Regions from separate parts of the Homo sapiens genome. Here region 2 is linked to region 1. The links are contacts of gene promoters, found by promoter capture Hi-C in blood cells and fetal thymus (Javierre and others, 2016). All regions are on one chromosome and are shown on one strand. The core of a region is centred on a gene start or on the middle of the fragment in contact, and the rest is flanking DNA. Distances in the headings are between cores, read along the strand shown. Region 1 holds the start of PICALM (phosphatidylinositol binding clathrin assembly protein). Region 2 overlaps LOC105369422 (a long non-coding RNA gene).

Region 1 (6,497 bases), core at 38-2,537:
TGGCTGGCAGATGGTGTACACAGACTTTCTGAGAATGTTAGCATTTCATTTGAAACTAGCAAGATTACATGTGACTATCATGGTAACTTAGCACTCACATATTTTTCAACTTATCCCTAACCCTGGGTTGAATGTAGAGGCTCTAATAACATATAAAAGGCTTTGTTAATGTATGGTCTGGGTCTCATTGAATAGTATTTCAGGATGTAATACTTCTTTTAAAATGTCCACAGGGCAGTGTCAACGTCTTTCCATGGAAATCTGGCTCACCCAATAAGAGAAAAGAGGCCAAAGGTAAGAAAGACTAAACCAGGGGAGATGGCAGGCAGTGATGTCTGGACTGTTTGAATGGGACTTCTCCATTTACCGCCCCTCTCACTTCCTTCTATGGTCTGGACCTTTAATCACCACAGCAGTCAGCCATGTAGGGTCAAGCTAATCGCTGTTGACATCATCCTACTACTTCCCTTTTCAAATTCCAGTGAAGCTATGTGTTTCCTGTCCTATTCCACACCCTAGAGAATGAATACCGGCCAGCTAGTATCTAAATTTAGAATGGCAGCAACGTGTCGGGTTTTCGGAGTAGAGATAAACAAAACCAGGTGACATTTCCAAGCCTCTCAAGGAAAGGGGGGAAAAAACCTTTCTGGGGTAAGTAAATAAGGAGAGCTTCAATAGTTCCATGGTAGAGAGAGGCCTGCTGGAAGGTTCAGAAAATAGGCCGTTTGGAACCTTCTCCTTTAAGCCAGGAGGGCGGCTTTGGGAGGCGTCTTGAAATACATTCTTGACTCTGCTGGGAAAGCTCGGGGAGCCAGAGGCCTAATACCCCCCACTTCAGGGGAAGCTGTGAAGGCAGCTGCACCTCCTTTGTCAAGCTGTTGGTTTCAACCACAGACACGAGGACACACTTGAGGTGGGGGGATAAGGGGAGAAGCCTGCCGCCCCGCCCCACCCCCGCCAGCACACCGCCCTCGCCATTCCTCTCCCGCCCCGCCCCGCCCGGCGTCTGTGACCCCGCGGGCCGAGCCTCAGGCGACCTGTTGGCAGGGAGAGTCACGTGATGCGCCGGCTGTGCACTCCCCTCGGGCGGGCCTCCTGTTGCGCCCGCCTGGCGAGTTCCATCACGTAACGCGCGGGCGCCGCCCAGCTCTTCCCTCGCTGAGCGAGGGAGGGCGGGCGTCGAAGAGGAAAGGGAAGGGGAAAGGGGCGGGAGAAGGGAGGAGGGGCGGTGTCCGAGTCACGTGACCCGGGGCAGCCCGGAAAGCTCCGAGGAGGAGCCTGGCGCCGCCATTTTCCTGCAGCTGCCTGTTCCTCTTACCCTGCCCGGCTCCAGCTGACCCGGGAAGGGGTGGGCTGAACTGAGGCGGGGGCAAGGGAGTGCCCGACATCTTGTCCGACTCCGCGGGTGACACGAGCCGGTTCTCTCTGGACTGGTGGCAGCGCGCGGCCCCGAACCGCGCCCCAGGCCGGCAGGCGGGGAAGGAGCCGGTGGGGGTAGGGGGTGCGGTGGGGGGTGGGGACCCTCCGGCTCTTGGGGGTCCCAGTCCCCGCCGGCTGCTGAGCGGGTGGGGTGGTGGAGGAGCTGCAGAGATGTCCGGCCAGAGCCTGACGGACCGAATCACTGCCGCCCAGCACAGTGTCACCGGCTCTGCCGTATCCAAGACAGTATGCAAGGCCACGACCCACGAGATCATGGGGCCCAAGAAAAAGCACCTGGACTGTGAGTGAAGCCGACCGCGGCCCCCGCTCCCCGGCGCCCGCGCGACCCGCGCGCGTCCTTCTCTCTCTCTCTTGTCTTTCACCCTTCTACTGCCTCTTCCCTCCCTGCGTCTTCTCTGGCACGGCCGGTCCTGTGCCCGTTGAGCTGTGTTCTTTTGCTTCCATCACACCTGCCTTCACGGCCTCCGCTCCCCGTCTCAAAATCTGACAAGCCACTCCCCTCCCTATTCCTAGGGGACCCTCGTCTCCCTGCCCGGTGCGCTACCACACCCCATCATACCCAACCAACTTGCTTCCCCACCTGGCTTCTCACCCCCTACCCGTCTCCACTGCAGCCTTCTGCTCTTCCTTCCCACCCGTCCGGTGCCGCCTCGTCGCCCTCGTCTGAGCGTCTCCAAGCCCCATTGTTTCTTCATCAGCCTCCTTCGGGTTTCAGTAAACGCCTGGTTCCTTGCATCCAGATCCTTGTTATCCCTCCGGGCTGCCTCCCTGGAAGGGATCCCCCACTTCCTTTGCTCCACTAGCTGCTTCGCCCATCCCTTCCTGGCTTTCTGTTCCACCTTCCCTCCTGCTTTTGGGTTACCTTTTCATCGCCTCTATAGTAGCTTCAGTGTAGTTTCTTCGACTCATTTTAAATACCATACCCAGTTACCCGACTTTTATTTCAGATTACCTTCTTTGTGGGAGTGAAAGTAAAAGGATTCAATTTGGTGTAGGGAAAGCTTTCTGGAAAGTTGGGATTTTTATTTGCCTCTGGTGGAATTTAATCGTTGTGTTGTCCATACTTTTGACTGGGGTGAGTTTGTGACTGTCAGCTCTGCCCCCCAGCTTTTCACATGGGGATATGGAAAAAGGCATTTTGCTGATACTCTTATCAGTTCCTGGAACTGTTAATTCTGGCGGCTTGAATTCAGAAGCTTGAGTGTTAAGCGTAGACTGTTGGAATTCCAAATGGATTAATAAATTTACTTACAAATAACATACATCCCTTAAAAAAATTGGCAAAATGATGTTTGATGATGCTTGAGTTTGGATGTTTTAATTATGCCAGTTACCTTTTGAGGAACTAGCTTTAGCTTCTCTTACACGACATAGTATTCGTCCATTCGCTAACGTAGATACAATTAGTAGAGCTAACTCCTCGTAACTTTTTTCTAACCTGGAAGTCACCTGTAATACCCTCCTTTTTCTTTGCGCTCTTTTACCCCAGGGTACAAAGCTCATTGGATCACTCAAGCCAATGGAGCTTAGACCTGAAACTTTTCAGGGAAAAATAGGGCAATAGTCACGATAAGTAAGTTCCCTTTTTAAATGACTGGACACATTAGTCTGACTGACTTTCATCATACATGAAAGTTACTTTGTTTTACTGTTTGAAGCAAGAGTGAGCATGCCCTGAAAGATAATTCACTGTCTGGAAGCCTGTTTTGATTTCTCATTTGGACTTTGGCCGTAAAGTTTGCACTTTAAAAAAAATGTACGAAATGTAGATTCTTCCAAGTTACTGTGCTCATGAATGCTGTTAGAACAAGTTTTTGCTACACAGAAGCCTATTATTCTTTGTGATTGTTCCTCCACTGTGGAAAAAAGTTTTAAATAAAAAAGCATTAGTGCTTGATTCTTTCAGATATGCATGCAGGCTGCTTTTAAACTCTCAGTCCTTGCTTGTCTTAGAGAATGGAGAATATGTTTAAATGGTGACACTCTTATGAACAGAAAACTTTTTAAAATGCATCGTAAAGCCATATGTGATTTTTTGATTATCTGATACGTGTAGTAGACGTTTCTGCTATTTACGGCTCTTCAAATACTACTTGGTTTGCCCTACCAAATCTTACAGTTTGTCCTGACACTGTGTTAATTCTTTTGTTAGTTGCTTTTGGTTTTTTTTTGTTTTTTTTTTTTGTATGGGAGTATGAAGAAACTAGTTGTGACTGTGTGAACTATTTTCCTCTTTCCTCATTCAAAATAAGAATCGATAAGGCTTTTAAAAGTTTTTTTTGTAAAGGTTTGTGTCTTATTTCAAATGTAGCAGTGGTTCTTTTAAAGCATTGTCAAAAAGAGGAGAAAATAGGTAGGGTTAGAAGAGTGCTATTTGCATGTTGTTTCATAAATGTTATTAGCTATTTCTCTTGTTATAGCCACTACTGCAGATAGATGGTAACTGGGATTAGGTTTGGAGGATAATCTTGCATTTGTCGTTCTTTTTCTCTACCACTTCTGTGTTTACAAGCTCCCACGTTTTTGGAACTTGAATATACCTGGTAGTATTTGATTTAAAAATATATGTGTCGTTAATGTGCTTCTGTTTCTTTTCAATGAGGTTTTAAAATACAGGGATACTATTTTCCCTACATTGTTGATTAAAATGTCCTGTAATCAGTTCTCACTAATAAAATACCTTTATCTTAGGTAAAGTCTGACCAGTGAGTGGTTTACTAAACAAATACCTTCCTTGCACACACTAACATGCTTTGAGAAAATTAAAAAGTCTTCTACGGACAGTTCATGGTGTTGACATCATGAACTTTAGGCTTTAATACAGAAACCTGTCATTTCAAGTAATTTTTTGTCTTTTAGGAATTTTTCTTTATAGTGAAAGCTTAGTTTATGTGCACCTTTTAATGCCCCTAGCAACTGATGCTTATTTATATGAATCTAATGAAAATGATTTCATTTTAAAATGGCAGCATTTAACAAAAAATATGCTTAGGACTGTTGTTTTTCGTATAAGCCCTTAGAGTGTGGAGGTGGTTTCTGTCAGTTTCTCGCCAAGATCTTTCCACATTAGGAAGTGATTATTAATAATTCATGAATTATGGCTTAATTCATACTACATTATATACTTACTGAAGAAAGATTTTTTTGCTTTGCTTATACTGTAGGTGTTAGTGGATAATAGTGTTGACTAGCATCCCTAGTGTGAAAGAGTTGTCAAACTTGAAATATGTTTGTAAAAATAAACACGATTTCCGTTTAATCTTAGGCCTTTAGTAGCCATAATCAAGGTAGAGGAATAGCAGCCCTTATATTTGAAGAACTTCAGTTTTCCAGGCACTTTCTCATCATCTCATTTAATCCTGTCTCACAGCTGGAGGTGGGGGCAATTCATATACATAGAAAGTAGCTTCTAATTCCATTTAGCAGTACAGAATGCTTAAAAGAACCATAATTATTGCAGGATAGAAAAAACAAATTTTTTTTTTTTTTGAGACGGAGTCTCGCTCTGTCGCCAGGCTGGAGTGCAGTGGTGCGATCTTGGCTCACTGCAACCTCTGCCTCCCAGGTTCAAGAGATTCTGCCTCAGCCTCTTGAGTAGCTGTGACTACAGGCGCATGCCACCACACCCAGCTAATTTTTGTATTTTTAGTAGAGATGGGGTTTCACCATGTTGGCCAGGATGGTCTGGATCTCTTGACCACATGATTCGCCCGCCTCGGCCTCCCAAAGGGCTGGGATTACAGACGTGTGAGCCACTGTGCCTGGCCCACAATTTTTAATTTATAACTTCTTAATATAAAAATCATTTTTATCTGATCTTACAATCTTTAGTCTTAACCCCACCCCTTTTTTTGGATACAGGGTCTTGCTCTGTCTCTGGTGTGCAGTGGCAGGATCATGGCTCACTGCAGCCTTATCCTCCTCAGGCTCAAGAAATCCTCCCACATCAGTCTCCCAAGTAGCTGGGACTATAGGCATGTGCCACCACGCCTGGTTAATTAAAGAAACTTTTTATTTTTGGAGAGATGGGGGTCTCCCTATGTGGCCCAGGCTGGTCTTGAACTCCTGGGCTCAAGTAATCCTCTTGCCTCAGCCTCCCAGAGTGCTGGGATTACAGGTGTGAGCCAGCATGCCTGGCCCTTATCCTATTTTTTGATATGAATTCTTAATTTTCTTTATTCTTATTTACTATCGTTGGACATTTATATTTTGACATATTTCACTGAAATGTAATATTTATACTAATGGCTGTAATGTCTCCTTTTTTTTTTTTTTTTTTAAAATGAGGTGGGTCTTACTCTGTTGCCCAGGCTGGAGTGCAGTGGTGGAATCACATCTCACTGCAGCCTTGACTTCCCGGGTTCAGACAATCTTTCTGAGTACCTGGGACCACAGGCATCTGCTACCACGCACAGCTAATTTTTAATTTTTATACAGACAGGGTCTCCTTGTGTTGCTCGGGCAGGTCTCAAACTCCTGGGCTCAAGGATCCTCTCTACCAGCTGAGCCTCCTAAAGTGCTGGGATTATAGGTGTGAGTCACCATATCCTGTATGTCTCTGTTTTTTAATTCATATTTTCCCCAGTTAATTTACAGGGACATTTCATTTCAACCACTGCCTTATCTTTTCTAAAACAAAATCAAGATCAAGTTCTTACTAAGCATCCATTATCAACATATCTCTGGTCGATACAGCATGGTTATTTGTATGTTGTGAACTGGATCTAGAAATTGGAAATAAGTTTTTAAAAAGTAGGATTTGAATATTTTGCATATGTAGAATTTGTATTTGGGCTAGTGGTTTGTGTAACTACATTAAAAATGCGTATAACATACCAGACTGTACCTGAATTAATTCCCTTTTAAAGCACAAATGGTTTTTAATGTCTCAGTTAATAATATCTTATGGGTGCTTAGTTTGCGTATTGTCAAGAAGGATCTGGTAACTAGGATGTGATTTCTAAGAAGATGCATGTAAGGAAGAAATAAAGTAGAAGATCTGTCCCAGGATATCTTTTATTTAAAAGTAAGGTAACTGGGACTTTTTTTTTTTCCAA
Region 2 (6,555 bases), core at 595-3,094, 970 kb before region 1:
ACAAGATAATATCAGATAGGTGTAGTTGTTTGAAGAAAATAAAAGAGAAATACTCAGATGAAAAGTCCAAAACAACAATGGCAAAAAGATAAAAGTATCTTTCTCTCAGGTAAAGGTAGGCAGTCCTAGAATAAAATGGTGGCTCCATAACGATTAGGGATCCCAGCCTCTTTGTGACAGTTTGCTATGCCATCTGCTACCTGTGATTTCCACCCTAACTTAGAAAATAACATGACATCAACATGCTAGCCAGGAAGACCAGCAAAAGGGGAAGAGAGGCCGGGCGCGGTGGCTCACACCTGTAATCCTAGTACTTTGAGAGGCTGAGGCGGGTGGATCACTTGAGGTCAGGAGTTTGAGACCAGCCTGGCCAACATGGTGAAACCCTGTCTCTACTAAAAATACAAAAATTTGCCAGAAATGGTGACACGCTCCTGTAATCGTAGCTACTCAGGGACTGAGGCAGGAGAATCGCTTGAACTCAGGAGGCAGAGGTTGCAGTGGGCCAAGATCACACCACTGTTGCCTTGGCAACAGAGAGAGACTCTATCTCAAAAAAAAAAAAAAAAAAAAAACGGGGGGGCGGGGGCGGGGAGAAAAGGGCATACTTCCTGTTTTTAAAAAAACTTCCCAGAAGATCCATACAAACTACTACAACTTACGTTCCTTGGACAAAGCTTAATCACATGGCCACACTTCATTGCAAGAGAGGATGGTGAATACAATCTTTTTTAATTAATGGGACAAATGCCCAGCTAACATTTGAGGTTTTATTACTGAGCAAAATGGAAAAAACAGATATTAGAGGCAACTAGCAGTGTCTGCCATAGTTCTATGTCTCTGGCTACCCAAATATCCGGGCACACCATTCTTTCTACAGATAGACATACCTTCCCTTTTCCAAGGGAGACAACCTAAAATTCCATGCAGTTGCTGAATCCTAGCCAAAGTCCAGAATATTCCTCAGGACCAGATGCAGATCTCATGATAAAGTTATCATCCGCCTCAACACATCCAATATACAATGGTAGAATAGGAACAAGATAATCACAATTTTTTTCAAATCTCCAATTCAGAAACTAAGAAGATCAAAAACACAGCATAAACTTATCCAAAAAATTACAGAAATAGCAGTGCAGGCTTATTTTTTTTCAATAATCCATTCCTGAATATCTGTGATCCTTTCACAAGAAAATGCTGAATAGGAACTTAGTTTTAAATGGGAAAAAATAAAATGCATTACATATCAACCAAAAAATTCTTAACAAGTATTTAAAACATAGTATCAAATATTAACAAAAAATGATCATGTTAAGATGTACAATACTATACAAATAACATCTTATTCACCAAACAATTAATACGAGCTGGGCACGGTGGCTGATACCTATAATCCCAACACTTTGGGAGGCTGAGCTTGGTGGATCACCTGAGGTCATAAGTTCAAGACCAGCCTGGCCTATGGTGAAACTCCATCTCTACTAAAAATACAAAAAGTAGCCAGACATGGTGGTGGACACCTGTAATCCCAGCTACTCAGGAGGCTGAGGCAGGAGAATCACTTGAACCTGGGAGGCGGAGGTTGCAGTGAGCCGAGATGGTGCCACTACACTCCAGCCTGGGCAACAGAACAAGACTCCGTCTCAAAAAAAAAAAAATTTTTAATATGATTGTTAACTCTCAGTTGCTTCTGAATGTAATAGCACAATATAGTTTTCATGCCTGATAATAAACAATATGTTTACTATGTGGCCCAGCAATTACACATTAATAAATAAGGAAATTTTAAAATTACAATTAAAACCAGGTGGTTTCTTTTAGTTAACTGTTTTTTGTTTGTTTTGAGACATGGTCTCACTCTGCTACCCAGGCTGAAGTGCAGTGGCGCAATCACAGCTCACAGCAGCCTATATCCCCTGGGCTCAGGAGATCCTCCTGCCTCAGCCTCCTGAGTAGCTGGGACCACAGGTACGCCACCACACCTGGCTAATGTTTTTAAATTATTTGTAGGGTCTCCCTGTGTTACCCAGACTGCTCTTGAACTCCTGGGCTCAAGCTGTCCACCCACCTCAGCCTCCCAAACTGCTGGGATTACAGGTGTGCACCAACACACCTGGTCCTAATTAACTGTTAAATGGAGACTTGAAGCATAAAGAAATTTGAGAAAAAGGGGATGGTGCCAAAGGGGACAATGCTGATGAGCTGGGTGGCAAAGGGGTGATTTCAGGGAAACTCCCAAGTTCAAAAGAAAGGATACTCTATCTTTTCTAGTGCTGCTATGGAGATTCCAAAACAGGAAGGCATTGATAAATCCTCAGGGGAGATGATCTGTGCTTTAGGATGCAAAAAAAATTGCAAAATGGAGCAGTATGCAGTTAAACCAGTAGCTTACATTTGTAAATTTCTTTATATGGTATTATAAGATATAGCAGGCTGTTTTTTAAAAGAAAGCCTTCTCTTCATGCCACCATTAAGTTTAAAGATAATGTTAAACATTGCATCTGCATGGGTCATTTATTCTTTTAGGTTGGCTATGACAGTGGCTTGATTGGATACTTTCTGGGGGCTTCATTGTTTCTTCTTTTTCATTAAAAAAACGCAGGGAGGGCTTTAGGGTTCATCAACAAGGTGAAGCAAAGAGTTTCTCCAAAGAAGGTGCACAGTGGATGAAGAAAACTAATCTGGCAATTTATGATGGAATTCAAAGGCTTTGAAGAAACGCCAAGATGAAAATTGTTGCCCCTTTCTTTGTGATGGAAGAATGAAAAAAAAAAAAAAAACACAAAGTTGTTGCTCTTGTAGGATTCTAGTTTTGAAGATGTCAACGAAAAAGAATGGAAGAGCTCTTAAGATCTAATGCAGAGGATTTAACGACACTAATCTAGTTTAGATCTACATGCAGTCATTGTAGAAATAATTATCAGGCACAAGTACAATGGCAAAGTACGGCAAACTCGAAGTATGACACTGTAGTAGCTCTTGATTCCAGCAACAGTCAGTAACCAAGCTTTTCACAAAGCTACATATGATTCTGATTTTCTTTTCTTTTCTTTTCTTTTGAGACGGAGTCTTGCTGTGTCACCCAAGCTGGAGTGCAATGGGACGATCTCGGCTCACTGCAAACTCCGCCTCCTGGGCTCAAGTGATTCTTCTGCCTCACTAGCTGAGATTAGTGGCACCCACCACCACACCCGGCTAATTTCTGTATTTTTAGTAGAGACGGGGTTTCACCATGTAGTCCAGGCTGGTCCCAAACTCCCTGACCTTAGGTAATTCACCTGCCTCAGCCTCCCAAAGTGCTGGGATTACAGACATGAGCCACCATGCCCAGCCATAATTCTAATTTTCTACTAATTTTTGTTGCAACATAACTTCAGGTTTTTCCTTACGTCATTTTATTTAAAATATTGAGTTTCTAATATGTAAATATAAATTTTAATATTCAAATCTGGAGTATTAAAAGATACATATGCCCTTTCAGTCCAAGTAGGCAGTGTGTCTGCCAATACAATTCTCTTTAAGATTTTGGGGACTTCATATATATCAAATTATAATCCACTCCAATAGAAAAAAAAGCCACACTCACAAACCTCTGAGACAAACACTTTCCGTCTTGGGCTGAGAGTAAGAAAGCTGATGGAAAACACCCTTATACACTTAGAAGTGCTTTTGTCTAGCTGAAATGGTCTAGGTAAAATGGCTTTAAATCTTTGTACAGTCTTTACAAAAAATCTAAATAGCTGCACCCTGGATTGTACCTTCCCCTTAAGGCAATGCCTTAGTTGTTTCACCATCTGGAGAGGCTGGAAGTGAAAAGCAGTTTTATTTTTGAACCCAAAGTTCCCAGACTGTGTATATTTTCTCTAAATTTTGCTTAAAAATGAAATTGTTCCTTTTATATCTCACCTCTCTACATCTTATTCCACATAGGTTTTTTTTTTTTAATCAGTTGGCATTTTCAACAGTCTGTCTGGAAATTTCCTTAACTGCAAATACACCAGTTTGTTAGATATATTTTCTATTTTCTGCATTTCAGCATGCAACAGTGTTGCCAAACTTTCTGCCACTGCATAACAGGGATCCCTTTTTCTCCAGCCTTTCCTAACAGTTTCCTCCCTTCAAGCCTTCAAAGATTGTAGAAAAAACTCTCAAGTGGCCTTACAAAATATTCAGGTACATACACTGTCTAGAATTCTCAGCATCTATATTAGTTTGATGTTACCAGTACTTGGAAGCTACAGCTAAGGACACCATTCTCTCCAAACCCCTACCACTCCAACCACAGAATGTAAAAGTAAAAGATACTTTTGGAGGCTGAGGTGGGAGGATCACGAGGTCGGGAGATCGAGACCATCCTGGCTAACACAGTGAAACCCTGTCTCTACTAAAAATACAAAACAAATTAGCCGGGCATGGTGGCAGGCGCCTGTAGTCCCAGCTACTTGGGAGGCTGAGGCAGGAGAATGGCGTGAACCCAGGAAGCGGAGCTTGCAGTGAGCCGAGATGGTGCCACTGCACTCCAGCCTGGACAACAGAGCAAGACTCCATCTCAAATAAATAAATAAATAAATAAATAAATAATAAAAAAGTAAAAGATTTATGATTATTCTTTGAGAGGAAAAACACAAAATCAACATGTAGATGTGTACAAGGAATGCTTTAGAGGCCAGCCACATCTCTCTAAAAACAGTAGACTTATGCAATAACATATCTGTAGAAGACAAGTGTATTGATAGAATTGGAAGAAAAAAAAACGAGGAGCCCCCTGAGGCAATTCAGGTGCATGCCTGGGAATGAGAACTGCAGCCCAGGGACCTCAGGAATTAACTATGAAATGGGATGCATAGCTTCTCCTGGACAGATGTCATTAAATAACTGACTCATCTAACTAATGTTTTCTTTCTGAGAATAAAACAAACTTTTATTACAGTTTGGCTTCCCATGCAGGTCTGTCTTGAGAGACAGAATGGTTATATATTAGGTAACAGATATCCTAGTTTGTATGACAGGTTTTAATTTTCTATTGTTATTTAATAAATTGGCAGCTTGATTTATGCACTCATTTATAAGCTTGTTTTATATCACTTAGCCTGAGAAAGGAAGAGCCTCCCTGATATGCTTCCAAAGCCAGGTTTTTTACCCTGGTTGTTTGTGGCAATAAATTCTGTATTAGCCAAGAATGGTTAGGCTATGCCGAGATACCACATACACTCTAAATCTCAGAGAATTTAAAATAAGAAAGATTTATTTTGTGTTTACACAAACTCCAAAGCAGACTGGCCAGTTCTTCAGGGCAAGGGCAACCAGTGATTCAGGAATATAGCCTCTTCCATCTGCACTGGGCCTTCGTCAGTGGTCACTTTTTTTAATTTTTTCCTTGCTTCTTTGATTTTTCATGTGTGCATAATTTTTAGTTCTTTTGCATAGCAGCATGCACAAAATTTAAGTGTACAGCTTGATGAATTTTTAAATTTGCCTTTACTGAGACTACTATTTGCCCTGAGACTGCTATGCAGATTAAAAAAAAGTATTTCCATCACCCCAGAAGGCTCTTTAGTGCCCCTTCCCAGTAAATACACCTGCAAACAGAGGTAACCACTATTCTCACTTCTAGCATCATAGCTTCATTTTGCCTGTTCCTAAAGCTTATAGTAACAAATGCATACGTTGAATATTTTTTGTGTCTGGCTTCCTTCACTCAAGATCTTATGCATGTTGTCGTATGTAGCTATAGTTCATTCATTTTTATTGCTATATTGGGTCTATTGTATGAATATAGCACAATTTTTTCATTTGAGGACATTTGTGTTGTTGCATGTTTGAACCTACTATGAATTACCCAGCAAGGGACATTCTTTTACTTGACTTTTGTAGACGTATGCTTTTGTTTTTCTTGAGCATATACCTAAGAGTAGATGTGCTACGTCATGGGGCCAGCATACATTTAACTTTCGCAGATACCAATCACTGCTTTCACTTTTAAGGGCCAGACCTGGAAGTGGTTTACATCACTTCTGCTTACATCCCACTTCCAGAACTTAGTCACATGTCCCCAACCTAACCACAAAGGAGGATGGAAAACGTAGTCTTTCCATGTAACCAGGAAAGGAAAATGAAATGAGATTTTGTTAAGCATTTTGCGCCATCTCTGTCACAAATATCAACTGCAGGGTCAGGCTACCTGTAAGACAACCAGCTAACCTCCAATGATTCTCTTCCATCTTTGTGAACTGTATGACTCTCTTTTCTTAAATGAATATATGTGCAATAGTATAGCTTACTATAAATGAACTAATGCAAACTGATCATCACATAATATATATATAATATATATTATATATATGTTATATATATTATATATATATATATATATTTTTTTTTTTTTTGAGATGGAGTCTCACTCTGTTGCCCATGCTGGAGTGCATTGGCACAATCTCAGCTCACTGCAAGCTCTGCCTCCCGGGTTCATGCCATTCTCCTGCCCCAGCCTCCTGAGTAGCTGGGACTACAGGCACACGCCACCACGCCCAGCTAATTTTTTGTATTTCTAGTAGA

Evidence for each region. The method cuts DNA at HindIII sites, captures the fragments that hold promoters and counts their contacts. A CHiCAGO score of 5 or more calls a contact.
Region 2: a contact is called between a fragment that was not itself captured here and the fragment with the promoter of PICALM in region 1, in 1 of 17 cell types (non-activated CD4 T cells). The highest score is 5.6, in non-activated CD4 T cells.

The regions. Positions count from the first base shown.
Region 1 is chr11:86,063,874-86,070,370 of GRCh38, reverse strand. It overlaps PICALM (phosphatidylinositol binding clathrin assembly protein), which reads left to right and starts at 1,287. Exons shown (of 20, transcript NM_007166.4): 1 at 1,287-1,720. The coding sequence starts at 1,591. It overlaps LOC124902731 (a long non-coding RNA gene), which reads right to left and starts at 447. Exons shown (of 2, transcript XR_007062823.1): 1 at 1-447. It overlaps LOC124902730 (a long non-coding RNA gene), which reads left to right and starts at 6,495. Exons shown (of 2, transcript XR_007062822.1): 1 at 6,495-6,497. RefSeq lists silencers at 773-1,042, 1,193-1,362, 1,503-1,552, 1,623-1,672 and enhancers at 298-1,497, 1,237-1,938, 1,939-2,641. The HindIII fragment of the contact is 7,123 bases long and covers 1-2,443 here.
Region 2 is chr11:87,030,285-87,036,839 of GRCh38, reverse strand. All of the region lies in intron 1 of LOC105369422 (a long non-coding RNA gene), which reads left to right. Among named protein-coding and RNA genes, the nearest start is that of TMEM135, 4.4 kb to the left of the region's middle. The HindIII fragment of the contact is 2,330 bases long and covers 680-3,009 here.